2 separate regions of the Homo sapiens genome follow, and region 1 is linked to region 2. The links are contacts of gene promoters, found by promoter capture Hi-C in blood cells and fetal thymus (Javierre and others, 2016). All regions are on one chromosome and are shown on one strand. The core of a region is centred on a gene start or on the middle of the fragment in contact, and the rest is flanking DNA. Distances in the headings are between cores, read along the strand shown.

Region 1 (6,461 bases), core at 1,098-3,597, 610 kb after region 2:
AGCTGCACTTGTATGTTTATTTCAGCTCTAGTCACAATAGCAAAAATATGGAATAAACCTAAGTGTTCATCAATAGATGATTGGATAAAGAAAATGTGGTATGTATACACAATGAAATACTATTCAGCCATAAAAAGAATGAAATCACATTTTTTGTAGCAACATGGATGGAACTGGATGTCATTATCTTAAGTGAAACAAGTCAGACACAGAAAGACAAATATTTCACATTCTCACTCATAAGAACTCCCATATCTGATGGTGAATGTGTAAATTAGTACAAACACCTTGGAAAACTGGCAGTGCTTACTAAAATTTAACATACCTAGCTACACTCCCATTTATTTATTTGATTGTTCATAGCAGCATAATTAGCACTTGCCAATAACTGGAAACAATATAAATGCCTATAAGCAGAAACTAAAAAAATTATGGGTGAGGGATACACTATAATTCTACAACAAAAATAAATGAACAAGCCACGTGTGGTGTCCTATGCCTGTAGTCCCAGATACTAGGGAGGCTGAGGTGAGAGGATACCTTGAGCCCAGAAGATCAAGGCTGCAATGAGCTATGATAGTGCCATTGCACTCCAGCCTGGATGACAAAGAGAGACCTTCTCTCTTAAAATAAAAATGAATAAATGAATTGTTTATACATGCTAAACCATGGCTGAATTTCACAAACAAAATGTTGAGTAAAAGAAGTCAAAAAGAATATAAACTTTCCATAAAGTTTAAAAATAAAACTAATCTGTAGTTTTAATATATTCACAAAAAAACTTGTACACAAATATTGATAGCAAAAACTAATAATACCTAAAGGTGGAAACAACTCAAATGTCCATTAATTAATTAACAAATAAAATGCAATATAGCTATACAATGTGATACATTTCAGCCATGAAAAGAGTGAAGTACTGATATGTGCTAAAACATGGATGAACTTTAATAACATCATACTAAGAAAAGCCAGACACAAAAGCATATATTGTACAATTCCATTCATATGAAATATGCATAATAGACAAATCCATAGAGACAGAAAGTAAATTAGTGGTTTCCTGGAGATGAGGGAATGGAGAATGATTATGGGATTTCTTTTCAGAGTGGCAGAGGTGTTCTGGAATTACCCAGTTGTGATGACTCAGCAACATTATGAATGTTTTAAAAATGACTGAATTGTATATTTTAAAATGGTGAATTTTACATTATGTGAATTTTATCTCAATAATAATAATAAACGAAGAGAAACAAGCAAATAAAAAACATCTAACTTTTGGTTTTGAAAATCAAGTTATTTATTTTGGTACAGGATGGTAGTGACTAGCAGAGAATATGAGGGAGCTTTGAGGTTCTGGTAATCCTTTCATCTGAGTAGTGGTTTTATAGGTGTATTCATTTTTTGAAAATTAATAAAGCAATTTTGTAATGTATGTTATATTTTTAAAGTATATTTCAATAAAAGTTATAAAAATAAAATTTACAAATTAAAAAATGTTTTAGGGCCAGTTATAATTCAATACATGGTAACTTAAAATTATATCAAGAAATAATTAAAATACACAATATAGCCTCACAACTAACAATCTATAGGTTGGTATCTGGAAGCTTATTGAATTGAATAATCCAACAATCTTGAAAATAAAAATAAAATAAAAATCAATTAGCAATTTTAAAGGCATGAATCAAAGATTCACATTTAGTTTAAAAATACTCTTAAAAATACTTGGAGTGGAAATACTTAAAAACACCAACTACTAAAATTATCATGTAAAATAATCAATAGCCTCCAATTTCATAACATTTTGGCATTTCATAGTCAGGGCCCAAATCTGTAACTTTTCTCTTTACTTATTACTGTCTTCAAGAAACTTTCAAAAGATAGATTGTATTAGACAGACAGATTACCAATGTTGCAATAATGGCTCTTTGATTTTTTTTATGTCTAACTGTAACTGGAAAATTCTGGACATGCTTCAAAATTGTCACTATGCTTTTATCCAGATGCTTTCAACCAAAGACACTTAGACCAAAACACTTGGCTATAGAGCAAACTTAATCATTTGATTGTTTAAATTCTATTTTCTCATTTCTATTTTTGGGAAGAATCCTCAATGATTTTTATAAATACAGGCAACATTTTATCTTTAAGAATTTTTTTGTCCCAAAAGAATCTATGGTGAATGACAACAAGAATCACTTTGCAAATAATATTCTATCCAGTGTGTTTTTGCAATACTCAGTAGATTTGGTACATAGATTTAGCAGTGAAAATGACTATCCACTGCCTACTGTAAAAATGAAATATAATAAAAGTTAGTCAAATTTTTAGATTTCACATAGACTTACTGCTGTAGATAAACTATTCTAAAAATGAACTGAATAGAAATATGCTGAATAATATACAAGAGTGGATTTATCAGCAAAATTTATAAATACAGAGAATTTGATTTAATAAGAAATTAATCTCTTTTTTCCAATTGAATTTGCCTTTCATTCATTTCCATAAGTCTTCCCTGTTATCTAAAAAAAGTAGTAAGGCTAGTCTAGGTTTTTCCATTTTCAAAGTAACCACATTTCTAAAGTTATAAAGACTTATTTTAACAATGTTCTTAAATCCTAATGCTTCCTAAGTACATAAATGAAAGTGACATACCCAAATGGCAAAATGAGCTCTCACATAAAAAATAGAAAAGCAAGTTTTACTTAATCAACGCTATTTTAGAAAGTGAGGCAAAAATAATATTGGCTTATTCCCTCTTCTACTAGCATGTCATAACATTTGATGCAATTCCTATTATTATTAATAATTTAAAATAAAACAAGTTCCAGAAAGCACAAGAACATAAAATGACTTTAAAGGGAAAGCTGTTGCATCTCTTTGGAAATATCAAGGGTCAAGTTTAGCATTAACGAACTAATGCCAACACAAATCGGGAGGAAAAATAGTTCTCACTCTGCCTAGCAGCACATTCTAAAATTGGACCTCGCCTGGAATGAACTTCTATTCACTGAGTCATTGCCTGTGGAATTTCCATTTTAGCTCTCTAATTTGGCTAATTTCCCCACAAATAGACATGAGAGAAGCTTCCTTCTTCCACATGCAGTATTATGTTATTTCACACTGCAGTTATATCCCTCTACTGTGTACACAGGAAAGGGAAATAAGTCTTGACAAAGACGAATCATTTCTTGACTTTATTCCAAGGAAAGACTGGCTTAGAATTGAAATGTTTTCATTTTGGCTACCATTTGCAATTTTTATTGTTAAATGTATTTATTTTTTAAACTGACAAAAATTGTGTATATTTATCATATACAATATGTTTGAAAATATATATAACACTGTGGAATGACTAGATAGAGCTAATTAACACATGCATTACCTCATATACCTACTTTTTGTGGTGAGAACATAAAATATTATGTATCACTATAGTGAGCTTTATTTTTTTTATAATGGGCTTTGTTTCCTTTCCAAATGTATTCAGTTAGTTATACTTTATTCAGAATGTGAGAGACCTGCTTGATGATTAACACTATCCCTCATCACATGATTGGTGAAGTTTCAGGATTCTCCATGTTAAACTCCAGTAGTTGTCATTCCCAAGTATCAAACGAAGTCTTTATAGCCTTATTTTCAGCTAGCATACCTATATAAAATAACTACTTTCTAATTAAAGTCTTGTTTTTTTGTTTCAGAAAATTAAAATTTGCTTGTGTGTCCAATATAAGGAAAGTAAAAATTATTTCAAAAATTACAGGTGTAAAATCATTTATTTATATGCTATGGTTTTCTCATTTGGAAACAAAATGTTTGTTTTATATAATTTCCAAAAGATCACTCTCAGGTTTTATACTTAATATATCCGGGATTCCAATCTAGAGCAAATCAAAATATAGCATAATTTACAAGTTATTTCCCATAGTATTTTGCTATAATTAAAGCTACCAGTCACAATTCTGTTTAAATTTTAATTTAGGACAGTTTATCCTAATTGCTGTATTGCAGCTTACATTTTAGATTCTTAGAACTTTTTGAAAAAACTTCTGATAATCTGCACATTGAAATATTCCTCATAATTTTCTGTCCATACCGTGAAAATAACAACTGCCATTCTATCTGAATCTGTATAATTCTAATACATAACCATCTAGAAATTGATTATATATTATTTGTCATTGCTTGCTGAATTTTTGTTTCTATCTAGCTTGTAATATGTGTGGGTAAAGGGCAGAATTTGTCAAATATGTGCTAAAAATGTTTGTTTGAATAAAGTAATGCAACATACTTTTGTGTTATACTTCATAGTGCCTCACACAGAGTAGGCACTCAATAACCACCAGCTGCTTAATAAGCTGGTAATGATAAGAGGTAGTCTAAGGATTCACAGTTAGTGCTCATAAGAATAATTATCTCCTTTGTTTAAAATACTGAGTTAAGGTATTTTCCATAGGCAGAATGATGGTTAATGTGTTTTGCATGTGCATAAATGTCAGCAGAAAACTAGAATGAAATGTATTGTTCTGTTGACAATGCAGGACAGCAAAGTCACCACCGAACAAAATGTAATTGCTAGGTAATTATACTATTTATTTACTCTCTCTTTTTTTGCACTCCATGCTCACTGAGTTATCACCATTAGTAGTCAGGGTAACTATAAAATGTGTTACATTAGGGTGTAAAGAGAAAAGAGGATGTGACTTCTGTAATTGAGTTTCCATACATCATCACTTGCCATGTTAGCTAATGAAAGAGAGGATTATGAGTAAGAAGCCCAAGTATCACATCGAAGTTGGTTTTTGGGCAATCCTAGTCCTATCTCTTCCAATTTAAGAGAAATGCAGTTAAAACTCAATCTAACACAGTTTAGCATGAGAAACTATTGAAATTAATGACTAAGCAGTATCTTCCAAATTATGGAGATCTGATTTGTTATATTAATAAGCACCAAATAAAAAATACCTGTTGAATATCTGTAGTAGCAGAAGGCAGTAGTAAGAAAGAAATGGAAGCCAGCGACGACATAGCTCATTTTGATACAGAGTAGTCTGGGCTTATATTGTACAAGGTTGAAGAGTCCTGCAGATTCTCAAAGGGAAATAACATTATAAACATCAAATGTGAATCTAAGAACACATGAGGGAGCCAAACAAGATAAAGTCGTCTAACAGTGTGGATAATCTAGACTATGCATGATTTATTCAGAGATAGCCATAGTTTATCACTTCCTGATAAATTAAGCATGTCCTAATCGTCTTTGCATAAATATTCCTGAAAATATTTTATTACACAACTTTGTTCATATTAATCAAGTGTAATTTTTATAGTATCCAAGAAATCCTTAGGGACATTTTTAATCTTCCTTTCTCTTTCTGATGGTTGTCCTATACATTCAATAAGTCACCAAATTATATTCATTTCCTCAATTAGGACACATCACCTATATCTCTGTCTCTTCTCGTCACCACTTCAGTCCAAGCCTTCATCACAACACTCCGGAATTACTACAACAGACTCCTATGTGACGGCACTATTTCCCCCATCGTATCCACATTATACATGTCCACTATATTAATATTTTTATATAATCATATTTGACTTCCCTTCTCAAATATCTTCACTGGCTTTCAATCATATCCAGAATAAAGTCCTATCTACTCTGACTGGTTTGTATTGCCTTCCGGAATTTGGCTCCATACTGGCAGTCTAACCCTAACACCCAGCACTTACCAAATATGAGCCCTGAATTTGAGTTAGGCTGTTTTTCACAGTGTTGTGTGGCTAATTCCATTTTGAGTTCTTTGTGCTTTTCTCCCAGGCTGGAATTCACCAACACTCTTCTTTATATAACTAAATGTAACCACCCATTAAACTCTAGCTCCTGCCCCTCCTTTCACTCCAAGCCACTCATTTGGTGCCTGAAAACATGTTTGTTGATTTTGTTTAGTTGTAAAATGGCTAATAGGTGAATTTCTATGTCCTCTCCAAAATTAAGATATGGCTCATATTTTACTCTTCTTATCTATATCCCTAGTATTCTACCTTGCATTCTGTAAGGAGTCAGTAAATTAACTTGAAATATGCAGAGGGGACCATAGCTTAAAAATTGTTACCAGAGGCCCCATCTATTTAGATTTTGTAAACATATAAAATTCATTTTTAATGATTGCTTTGCTTTTTATAGTTTTTTTTGTGCTTAAACAATCTGTTATCTAAACCCTTGGTCCCTAGCCATTTTGGCACCAGAGACCAGTTTAGTGGAAGACAATTTTTCCACGGATGGGGGGATAGTTCTGGAATGATTCAAGCACATGACATTTATTGTGCACTTTATATTATTATTACATATTCACCATAATGTAGAATCAGTGGGAGCCCTGAGCTTGTTTTCCTGCAACTAGATGGTCCCATTTTGGGGCAATGGGATACAGCGACATATCATTACGCATTAGATT
Region 2 (6,171 bases), core at 3,031-5,530:
TGCTTGTTAAGTTTCTTAGAGATTGTGGATATTAGATCTTTGTTTGATGTTTGTGAATATTTCCCCCATTCTGTAGGTTGTCTGTTTACTCCGTTGATGGTTTCATTCTTTCTGTGTGGGTTGATGTTCCTTCAACTGTAGTGTAATATGAGTATAATCAGTTGACTTCTTTTCTGAATGTTTTCAGCAGTCTAAGCATTTTTGCAGGATCTTTATTTGTAGCTTAGTTCTTGTCCTTGGTTTCACTGGGGGATATATTAACAGTATTTTCGGTGTTGAAATTTGGTTGTAATCCACTAGATGGTGCTTAAATGTAATGGTTAATAGGTACGCTCTTGCTTAGCCATGTGGCTCGCCTGTATTTCCTCATGATTGCCATCAAATTTTCTGTTACTGTTCTGAAAGTGTAGGCTCCTCTCCCACAGAAGTGCTGTCTGTAGACCTCTGTTTGGCACTTGCGAGCTGTACAGCACAACCTTGTGGTGAGCTCATCTTTATTTTCCTTCCCCACTTTTGAGGCAGCAGGGGACAAGACCTTGGCAGTGGCTATGGCAGAGGGTCTTTCCCGTGTCTTTTGGTGCTCTACCCTAGAGAAATTCAGAGCGGATATCAACTGGTGCAATCAGTCAAGGGTGGGGCAGCTGCGTTTTTGGCCCAAGCCATGGGAACCTGCCTGGGGATGGGAAGGGGATTGCGGAGGGAACAGACCAGCCTCTTCTCCTTATGGTGGCTGTGGCTTTCTGGAGGTGTGGTTAAAGCACTGTGCGTCTTTGCTTCTTTCCCAGTCTGAGGGCAGCAAGGGCACTACCATTGCAGTGGCAGGGGCAGAAAGGCTTTTGGTTGTCTCTGGGACCTCCATCTCAGAAAAAAACACAGAGTCACTGCTACTGGGGATGTTCAGCCAGGGGGTGAGGCAACTGTGCTGTTGGCCTGAGGTGGGGACCCCGCTTGGGGAAGAGTCGGGGTTCGAGGGATAACAGGGAGGAGAGAGTGGGCTCTTCTTTGTATGGTGACTGTGTCTTGCTAGAAATGTGAGTAAAGCCCTCAGGATCTTCATTTCTTCTCCAGCCTGAGGGCAGCAGGGGAAGAACCACTGCAATGGCAGTGGCAGAGGGGCTGTCAGTTGCCTCTGGGAGCCCCTCCCCCAGGGAAATACAAAGCCACTAGCAGAGGGAATGCTCTGCCAAGGGTGGGACGTCTGTGTAGATCCAGGCTTGGGGCCCTGCTTGGTGAAGAGTGTGGGGTGGGAGCCTACATGGAAGAGAGACTGGGCTCCTCTCTGTATGGTGGCTGCAGCGTGCTGGAGGCTCCAGTGTAGCAACTCGACCTTTTGTTTTATTCCCTGGCCTGAATGCAGCAGAACAGTACCACTGCAGCTGCAATGGCAGAGAAGCTGTGGGTTGTCTCTGGGATTTCCTCCTCAGAAACGCAGAGCTGCTACCGAGTAAAGTGTTTATGTGGAAGCAGAGTGATTGTGCTTGGGGCCCAGGTCAAGAGGCACTGCTCAGTGAAGAGCAGCGGAGGTGGGGACACACGTGAAAACAGTCTGGCCGCTTTTCCTTTAAGGTGACTGCGCTGTGCTGTGGGTTCGCGTCAGTCCCCAACTTCTATACTACCTCCAGAGCCTGATGAGAACATGAGCGTGGAAAAACGTCAGCTTGCCTGCTCCCTCTGGGAGCTCTGTCCCAGGGAAGTGTGGAGCTGCTTCCAGCCTGAGAACTCAGGCAGGGCTGGGGTAGCCTTGTTAGTGTCCCAAGCTAATGGGCCTTATCCTGCGGCGTGCCCGGGAAGAAAGCCTGCAATCTGGGCATGGTGGTGGGTGCTTATAATACCAGCTACTTGGAAGGCTGAGGCAGGAGAATCACTTGAACCCGGGAGGCAAAGGTTGCAATGAGCCAAGATGGTGCCACTGCACTCCAGTGGCGCTCCAGCCTGGGCGACAGAATGAGACACCATATCATAACAAAACAAAACAACAACAACAACAACAACAACAACAAAACCTGGAATATTATTCAGCTTTTAAAAAGCAGGAAATTTAACATTTATTTTAAAGATAAATCTTAATGGTCTTATGATAAGTGTAATAAGTCCATCATAAAAAGTATGAATCCACTTATACGAGTTAGCTAAAGTAGTTGCACTTTTAAAAAGAGAAAATAGAATGGCATTTGTAAAGGGCCAGTCAATGGGGAAAACAGGTAGTCGATTCATGTATAGTATGTATTCATTTTGCAAGATAAAAATGTTCTGGTGATATGTTGCCAACAATGGCAATATACTTAACATGGTCTAACTATTAATATAAAATTAAAATATTTAAGATTGTAAAAAAAAAACAGAAGCTTTACATCCATATGTGATTTAATCTTCATAACACCATATGGCAGCTGTTATTCTACTTTACAGATGAGAAAACACACCTAGGGACATTAAGTGATTTGTTCAAGGTCAAAAACATAATGAGTGCTGGATCTAGGATTTGGATTCAGGTCTGTCTGGTCAGAGCCCAATCAGTGAGCATTCTTTGTACCTCAGGCTCACATATTTGTCATTTACAACTTAAATAAAGTAACAAAAGTTGGGCAAAGTAAATATTTTCATTTTGACAAAACCTTTCTCTGGTAAGGAAGTTTCACTCAGCTAACAGGTTTTGCTCAGAACTGTAATGGAGCCTAGATTATGACAACCTGCTTTATCAGCTTTCTTTACTGGATCTGCTAGATGTGCCTGTCATGATTAACCTGCTTTCTACCAGGTGCTTGAATTAGGCTAGAAGTGCTGTGATGACACTTTCAGTATCAACCTAAGTTCTGCAGGTGAAAAGACAGTGACCTGGATGACGTTGTCATTTCACCTACCCAAGACCTTAAATGCCAAGCTCGAATCCCTATCTTCAACGCTCATTATCTCATAATCACATACCTTCAGCCTACAAACCTGTATTGACTTCTCATCAAGCCCTATGTCAGGCTCTGGCAATACAAAGAGGAATTAGAATGACCCTGTTCTTCGAGGAGTTTATATCTAGATGGGGCATAGACACAAAAACCTAACACATAACAGAGGGTTGTAAGTGCTATGATTTTGTTAATCTGTGGAGTGCAGGGTTACAAAAGAGTGGCATCACACCCAGTTGTAAGTTCAGGGAAGACTTACTGGAGGAGGTGGTACTTGTCCTGAACTAGATGAAGAGGTTGGGAAAGCAGATGCAAAGATAAGGAGGGAAGAGAGAACTTTCGGATAGTTGTTTGTCAGGAGCTTAGCATGTGAGGGATAGAAGGGGTTAGGGATGAAGCATAGAGTTTTTCAGACACCAGTCATGAGAGTCGAATGCTGGACAAAGTAGATGGGTCTTGAATCTGTGGAAAATGGAGAATTATTGCGGAGTTATTGGCAGGGGTGTAATATTGTCAGATTTACATATTAGAAAGAACACTCTATAAATAAAGGCAGAGTGATCAGCTAGATTATTTGTAGAAGTTCATGTAAACCTCAGTGAGATCTGAGCCAGACTGAGTTGAGAAGGAAGGGCTGGATTCTGTCATGAGAATAAGAGAAATGGAAGAATCTGAAGTGATTCTAGATTTTTGGCATGGCTGACTGGGTGGATGAAAATTCCATTTGTAGACCTGTAGGGGCAGCAGTCTGGGGGACAAAAGGATGAGTTTTGGACTTGTTGAGTTTGAACGATCTGGAAGACATTCACATGGATATGTCAAAAAAGGCATTTCAAGTGTCCAGTTTAGGAGACAGATGGGCTGGAGATTTGATGTTCATCAGTACTACCTGTTAGTGATCTTATAAGGATTAAATAATATGCATATGGAAAATATATATATACTTGCCATTTAGTTGTTTGTTGAGCATACTGAATATTTGCATACAAAGGTATACTTACAACACTTTTTTCACAAGCACAGCTGAAATAAACTATAACAACTACCACTTATACTATTTACCATAAATTGTGCTAAATGTTTTTACTTATTATCTAGTGTTTATGGTAACCCTTTGATATAGGAGTAGTTATTCCCATTTTTTTTCTTATGAGTAAACTGACTAGGAGATATAGTGTAGGTTGGCCAGGGCTACACAGTAGCAGAACTGGGGAATTCCAAGGCCAGTGTTCTTTCTTATGACGCATTTTCTGTCTTGGGTTACAACAGCACTAACGACAGGTAGCATTGCACACAGGCAGCTGCTGGGAAGTCTCCGCCCCCATCTCTGGCTAGGAGCCCTGCAGGTGATGATAAACAAGCTCCTGTGGAATTGTGGGTAGACACTGGACTTGTAAACGAAAAGCTTCATAAGTCCCTCTTTGCTTAGTACTTTTCTCGTCCTTTCCCCAGGGTGCACGTAACCCTCAAGCACTAGGACCGTGCGGAATCCAGGCTGCGATGGCACCTTCATTTACCGCCCGCATTCAGTTGTTCCTCTTGCGGGCGCTAGGCTTTCTCATAGGCTTAGTAGGCCGAGCAGCTTTAGTCTTAGGGGGTCCAAAGTTTGCCTCAAAGACCCCTCGGCCGGTGACTGAACCATTGCTTCTGCTTTCGGGGATGCAGCTGGCCAAGCTGATCCGACAGAGAAAGGTGAGAATGCAATTCAGAAGAGGCTGGAGGGACAGGTCTTTTAGCAGGATCCAGGAAGCTTAGTGGTGGCGGTGGTTGTGGTTTCCTTTCCATTCTCTACTAGGGCGACTTAGGAGAGGCATTTATTGGGGATGAAGGGAGACTTCTGGGTGTTGTAGTACGTTTATTTTTACCAAGGACATTTACTGTGGGCATGGGTTGGACTATTTTGGTACCGTCATAGTCCTTCCTATCCATTTGTCCTATTTGTGCATAATTACTGTGTGTGGGGTAAAGCAGGTGTGAATTTCAAACTGATTCTCAGCTATGGAAAGTCAGTCTCTCTCTTTCTCTCTCCCTCTCCCTTTCTCTCTCTCTATTCTTCCGTCTCTCACAGGCCCCAGATCAACCTGCTGCTTACCATTCAACCAATTCTTTTTAAAATTGATTTAAAGTAAAAGTAGTACTTGGTCTAGGATAGTAAAAGCTGCGTCTACCATATATTTATTGCATAGTATATGTGAAATACTCTGCCTGGGTACTTAAACATATTCTATTTCACGGATGCAGTTATATAGGCAATATTCATATTTTATGCATAAGGAAACTGAAGTAAAATGATTTGCACAAAAATTGTTGAAAGTTCTAAATTAAAAAAATTAAGCAGCTCATTCGTTCTCTATAGAATTGTGCAGGCAGGACTATTCATCTCTGTCATATAAGTGATTGGTTACCTGGAGATCTTGAGCTACAGTCTAGTATTGTTTATTTATACTCTGCTTGTTTTCACCTCTCTGCTGTTTCATTTGTTTTTCGTCATTGCTTTATTTCCAGAATCTACAATACTACTTAACAAAGAATAGGCATGCAGCAAATACTATCTCAGTATGTGCTCCTGAATGTATGAATTATTAATATTTGTATTGTACTCCTGGTTACCTTTCAAAGACATATCCTGTCTTCTTGCCGTACCCCCTCCCCAGCCTCTACCCACTCATGCATGCTTTTCTACCAGTTAGGGAGGCAATGGGATGTATTCGGTTGGTGCAAAAGTAATTGTGATTTTGTAATTGAGATTTTGACATTACTTTTAATGGCAAAAATCACAATTACTTTTGCACCAACCTAATAGTAGAAAGATGATATATTTCAAATTTTGGACTGTCTGTTCATGGCTCTGTGACCTTGTGCCACACCAATAGCAGATAATACATATCAAGAACCTGGCACATAGAAGATTGTGTAACATAATGATTAGAAGGATGGACTCTAGAGTCAGACTCCCTGGGTTCAGAAATCCTAGCTTTTCTACGATCTAGCTCTGTGATCTTAAAAACATTTCTTTTTTTTTTTTTTTTTTTTTTTTTTTTTGAGACGGAGTCTCGCTCTGTCGCCTGGGCTGGAGTGCAGTGGTGCGATCTTCGCTCACTGCAAGCTCCGCCTCCCGGGTTGACGCCATTCTCCTGCCTCAGCCTCCCGAGTAGCTGGGACTACAGGCGCCCGCCACCATGCCCGGCTAATATTTCGTATTTTTTAGTAGAGACGGGTTTTCATCGAGTTAGCCAGGATGGTCTTGATCTCCGGACCTCGTGATCCACCC

The links. Contacts are between HindIII fragments. The CHiCAGO score rates a contact against its expected background, and 5 or more counts as called.
Region 1: a fragment that was not itself captured here is called in contact with the fragment with the promoter of FAAH2 in region 2 in 2 of 17 cell types (total CD4 T cells and activated CD4 T cells); the score reaches 10.4 in total CD4 T cells.

Annotation. Positions count from the first base shown.
Region 1 is chrX:57,898,120-57,904,580 of GRCh38, forward strand. No RefSeq gene overlaps it. Among named protein-coding and RNA genes, the nearest start is that of ZXDA, 9.1 kb to the right of the region's middle. The HindIII fragment of the contact is 1,479 bases long and covers 1,609-3,087 here.
Region 2 is chrX:57,282,426-57,288,596 of GRCh38, forward strand. FAAH2 (fatty acid amide hydrolase 2) reads left to right here and starts at 4,281. Exons shown (of 11, transcript NM_174912.4): 1 at 4,281-4,592. The coding sequence starts at 4,401. The HindIII fragment of the contact is 1,960 bases long and covers 2,344-4,303 here.